Linked DNA regions of Homo sapiens: region 1 is linked to region 2. Evidence: promoter capture Hi-C in human tissues and cell types (Jung and others, 2019). All regions are on one chromosome and are shown on one strand. The core of a region is centred on a gene start or on the middle of the fragment in contact, and the rest is flanking DNA. Distances in the headings are between cores, read along the strand shown.

Region 1 (2,700 bases), core at 39-2,538, 43 kb before region 2:
GCCAGATATGGTGGCACATGCCTGTAGTCCTAGCTACTCGGGAGGCTGAGGCAGAAGGATCACGTGAGCCCAGGAGTTTGAGGCTGTAGTGAGCTACAGTCGTGCCACTGTACTCCAGCCTGGACAACAGAGCAAGACCTTGTCTCCAATAAATACGTAAATAGTAAAAGCATAGGATAATCATAAAGGGTGCTGATAATTTTTCATATTTGACCTTTCCATTGCATTCTTTCCAGTTCCTTTTTCTTTTCTTCTTCATGTGTCTGGAGCAGCCCACATTGCCACAGAGAACTTGGCTGTTCTGAAACAATTCTGAGTGAAGGCAAAGTGCTTTTTGGATGGTCTTTCATGCTCAGCAATAGTGGCTCACAGAATAATGTTGATAGTAGGAGCCCAGAGAATTTAATTAGCCCAAGGTCACACAGTTAATAGCCCTACTGTAAAAGCTGGGCTTTGAACCCAGATCCAGCTCACTCTTTTTTTTTTTTGAGACAGGGTCTGGCTCTGTCACCCAGGCTAGCGTGCAGTGGTGCAATCATGGCTTGCTGCAGCCTCAACCTTCTGGGCTCAAGCAGTCCTCCCACCTCAGCCTCCCAAGTAGCTGGGACTACAGGTGTGCAACATCACACCCAGCTAATTGTATTATTATTTTTTTGGTTGAGATGGGGTTTTGCCATGTCCAGGCTGGTCTCAAACTCCTGGGCTCCAGTAATCTGCCCACCTTGGCCTCCCAAAGTGCTGAAATTATAGGCGTGACCCACCACACCTGGCCCCAGCGAACTCTTAACTACTTAGGCTTTGTGTAGATCTTAAGCCACCGGGAGGTGTTTGAGTCCTAGGTGTGCAACAATTAGGCTCCTCATATAAGGAGGGGTGGAAGATCACCAGGCAGCATTTCCACACCACTGTTCTTTGCTGTGGATTTGCATGAGAGGAGACATAGATTTCATGATATCTTGCATTGGCTTGAGGCTGCTATGTCAGGGTGGAAAGGGGATGGGGAGGATAATAAAACCTTAAAGTTGAAGGAGACGGCTGGGCGTGGTGGCTCACGCCTGTAATCCCAGCTACTCGGGAGGCTGAGGCAGGAGAATCATTTGAACCCGGGAGGTGGAGGTTGCAGTGAGTCAAAATCACGCCACTGCATACCAGCTTGGGCAACAGAGTGAGACTCCATCCTCCCCACCCCCACAAAAGAAAATTTAAGGAGACATTACAGGTGATCTTAACCAGACCTAGGGCCATTGAGTAACTTGCCTAAAGTTCATTTCTGTGTAGTGATAGAGCTGGGATCTACAAAAATTAGCCGGGTGTGGTGGCGTGCACCTGTAGTCCCAGCTACTCAGGAGGCTGAGGCAGGAGGATCAGTTGAGCCTGGAGGTCGAGGCTGCAGTTAGCTGTGATCAGGCCACTCTACTCCAGCCTGGGCAACAGTTAGACTCTGAGTGAAAAAGAAAAAAGTAGGGGGGTGCGAGGAGAGCTGGGGCCAAACCCAAGGCTCCTGGGTTTTCCATACCACTATTGACTGACACCAGCATGTCTCTCTGAAGGAACTCACTTTGGCACTCATATCTCACTATCTCCTGAATCCTCCTTCACCTCTTCCTTGCTAGAGGTACACCTTCTTTCGTACCGCTGCAGCAGAAAATGACAGTTCCCATAACCAAGACTATCCCAGGCAGCTCAGGGACTCTGTATTTAGAGGAGGGAGAAGGACCACAGGGGACTAGATATATAGATGGCCACAACTTGTGATGGTTCAACTTAGTGATTTTTCAACTTTATGGTGGTGCAATTGATACATGCAGCCAGTAGAAATCATTTGTTTTTCATTTTTAATACAGTATTAAGTAGATGACATGAGATATTCAATACTTTATTGTAAAATAATTTGTGTTAGAGGATTTTACCAAACCATAGGCTGATGTAAGTTCCGAGCAGTTTAAGGTAAGCTAGGCTAAGCTATGCTGTTCAGTAGATTAACTGTGTTAAATGCATTTTTGACTGACGATATTTTCAATTTATGATGGGTTTACCAGAACATGACCCCATCGTAAGCCGAGAAACTTCCGTACTGTGTTAAAAACTGTTTGAGGAACACTGGATTAAATGATGCTTCCACTGTTCTGCTCTCCCTGGGAAAGCGGAGGCAGAACGGTGAAGCAGAGTGAGGTCTTGTTTATTCCAGGCCCCCTGCCTCGGTGCACAGAAGATCCGAGAGAAAAGCTGACTGACAGCAGTAGGTCATGAGGATGCCACTTGTTTAGATTTCAAATGCATTCCACTCTATGTCTCACTTAAGACCAGTTGACAGCCATGTGTTCCGAGCCTGGGCTGCCTCTGGTGAATTTTCCTGAGACAGAAGTGTCATTGGATTCTTTCTTGTGCCAAGTGTAGGCACCACTGCCTCTTTTAGAAACTATGTGGACACTTTGAACTGTGCTCTTTTAAGCCAGTGCCGGAAGAATGGCATTCGCAGGGCCTGGTAAACTGGGGAGAAACTTTCTGATGTTTTTATGAAAGGCATGTTTTGCTCTGAAGTCAAAGAGTGTGTGTTCTGGCCAAAGTAGCAAGCATAGATCTGCTTTTTCCACACGCACCAGGCTTCAGAGGAGAAGTTGACTAGATAGCCAGTGTCTCATTTTGTTTGTGGTGGGCATGGGATGGTGAAAACGGAAGGAGGAAGAAGTACAGGGGACA
Region 2 (2,700 bases), core at 138-2,637:
CCCTGAAGATCCACATGACTAGCCTTCTCCATCTTCTCTGCCCCCGGGAGGAAGCCAGCAGAGGTGGGAGCTAGGTAGTTGGTCAGCAGACCTGGCTGATTGGTCCAAGAAAAAATAAACCAACCCTTGGCTTGATCAAAGCTGAGAGGCTGGCAGGGCACAGTGGCTTACGCCTATAATCCTAGCACTTTGGGAGGCTAAGGTGGGAGGATCACGAGGTCAGGAGATCGAGACCATCCTGGCTAACATGGTGAAACACCATCTCTACTAAAAATACAAAAAATTAGCGGGCATGGTGGCATGCTCCTGTAGTCCCAGGTACTCAGGAGGCTGAGGCAGGAGAATCACTTGAACCCGGGAGGCAGAGGTTGCAGTGAGCTGAGATTGGCCACTGCACTCCAGGCTGGGCGACAGAGAGAGACTCTGTCTCAAAAAAAAAAAAAAAAAAAAAAAATGCTGAGAGGCTGGGGGCCCTGCTGAGTGGGAGGCTCATCAGCAACCCTGAAATGTCATTGTAGAAAACTGCCCCTGTGAGCCTGAGTAGCTGGAAATAGCACCAGGAAAGCAGCAATCCCAGCCTGCAATAGCTAGGCTAATTCTCCCCAGCAGCTTTCATGGAGGACAGTAGTCACTGCCCCCATTTTCCATGAAAAGTAACATGAATCCTGGCTGTATAAGGGGCACTTACTGTGCTGGGTGCTAGGCTAAGTGCTGTACATGCACCTTCTCAGTCCATTAGAGAAGTCTAGGCTCAGAGAGAGGAGTGGAGTGAGGATTCCTTGACCCCTCAGACCACTGTGGTCCTCCCATCCCACCTCCTGGGCAGCCTGGTAGAGGAGACATTCCTTTAATTCTTCCTGCCTAATTTAGAGGCTGGGTGGGGGTCTGAAGGTTCACTCCCTTCACATCATCCCACTAGTCTACTTTGGGAAGAATTACAGGTTGTTGGAGCTGGAAGCCCCATTCTAGGCATGGTCTGAAGACCTGAACAATCCCAGGGGGTGGTGAAGGGGGCAGGGAGGAGATGGGCACCACTTACCATTTGAGGCCGCCCAGAGAAGTCCTTGCCCTTCTTAATAAGCACCTCCTTGGCCAGCTGGTGGTGGCCGACAATCACTGTAGTCTTGGTGCCCATACGAACCGAATAGATGGGGCCATATTTTTTCTGCAGCTTGAAGAAGTTGTTATGCATATGGCCGTGTCTGGGGAGGAATGGCAGGCTGCCCACCAGGGGCAGGGACAGGAGGCTCTTGGGGTACTTGGCACCAGGGCACCTTCTCTTGGGCCAAAACAAATAAGCTAGGGTAAGCAGCAAGAGAGCCACGAGCTCCCACATGGTGGCTGGGTGCCGGCAGGCAAGATAGACAGCAGTGGAGTAGAAGAGCTGTGGCAACTCTAGGGCACAAGGAGGCCTTTTAAAGGGCTACCCTGATCTTCACCTTGACTTTGTGTTATCTCTTGCCTTGTGGAAAGATTCTCCTGGAGCCCAGCCAGGCCTGAGCTCATATCCAGAAGGGAGAGAGGCGGTGGGAGTGAAGGCCTCCTCAAGGGCTGGCTCAACTCCAGGGCAAACCTCCGGAGGAGGAGCTAGGTAAGGGAGGTCAGTTGATCACCCTCTGAGGAGCTCCCCATGCTTGAATGACTCCAGAGTGCGAATGGTATCTGGGCTCAGGAGTCAAGGCTTGGAACTTTCCATGTTGCAAAATCAAAATCACTGGACAGATGACAGATTCAGGAGGGTCACAAGTAGCAGGGACTGTTAAAGGTCTTTTATGCTTCTTTTTTTTTTTTTCAGAGTCTTGCTCCATCACCAGGCTGGTGTGCAGTGGTGTGACTGTCCATGCAGCCCTGGCCCTCCAGCCCATGTGGTTTTGGCAGCGATAAGGGCTGTGGGTTAATGGTCCCCAAAATAAAAATGTACATGTGTATGGGAACGAAAGGGGTGCTAAGCTGTGGGGAGCGGTGGAAGGGAAGGGAGAGATAGGTCAGTACTAGGAATGCCAGAGGTGGGAGGCCGTTTCATAACATTTCTTGTTGATCAAAATGCCATCAACACCTTCTTTGCTCATCAGCAGGACTAGCGTACTGGGGGAACCCACCCCCAATATTTCAACGTAGGTTCTTTCTATAAGTGTCAGCCGGCTGAGAAATAAAGAGAGACAGTATAAAGAGAGGAATTTTACAGCTGGGCCGCCGGGGGTGGCATCACATATCGGTAGGACTGTGATACCCACCTGAGCCTCAAACCAGCAAGTTTTTATTAAGGGTTTCAAAAAGGGGAGGGGGTGTAAGAACAGGGAGTAGGTACAAAGATCACATGCTTCAAAGGGCGAAAAGCAGAACTACTAATAAGTGTCTAACAAAGATCACATGCTTCTGAGGGAAAGGACAAAGGGCAAAAGCAGAACTACCGATAAGGGTCCAACAAAGATCACAAGGCAAAGGGCAAAAGCAGAACCACTGATAAGGGTCCAACAAAGATCACAAGGCAAAGGGCAAAAGCAGAACTACAGATGAGGGTCTATGTTCAGCGGTGCACATACTGTCTTGATAAACACCTTAAACAACAGCAAACAGGGTTCGACAGCAGAGAACCGGTCTGACCACAAATTTACCAGGGCGGAGTTTTTCCCCACCCTAGTAAGCCTGAGGGTACTGCAGGAGACCAGGGCGTATCTCAGTCCTTATCTCAACTGCACA

Evidence for each region. Contacts are between HindIII fragments. The study calls those that stand out against the background at their distance.
Region 1: a fragment that was not itself captured here is called in contact with the fragment with the promoter of CYP17A1 in region 2 in 1 of the 25 tissues and cell types used here (bladder).

Annotation. Positions count from the first base shown.
Region 1 is chr10:102,793,299-102,795,998 of GRCh38, forward strand. The region is part of intron 1 of WBP1L (WW domain binding protein 1 like); the gene reads left to right. Among named protein-coding and RNA genes, the nearest start is that of CYP17A1-AS1, 38 kb to the right of the region's middle. The HindIII fragment of the contact is 6,115 bases long and covers 1-2,700 here.
Region 2 is chr10:102,836,026-102,838,725 of GRCh38, forward strand. CYP17A1 (cytochrome P450 family 17 subfamily A member 1) reads right to left here and starts at 1,388. Exons shown (of 8, transcript NM_000102.4): 1 at 1,040-1,388. The coding sequence starts at 1,336. RefSeq lists a promoter at 1,348-1,627. The HindIII fragment of the contact is 7,169 bases long and covers 1-2,700 here.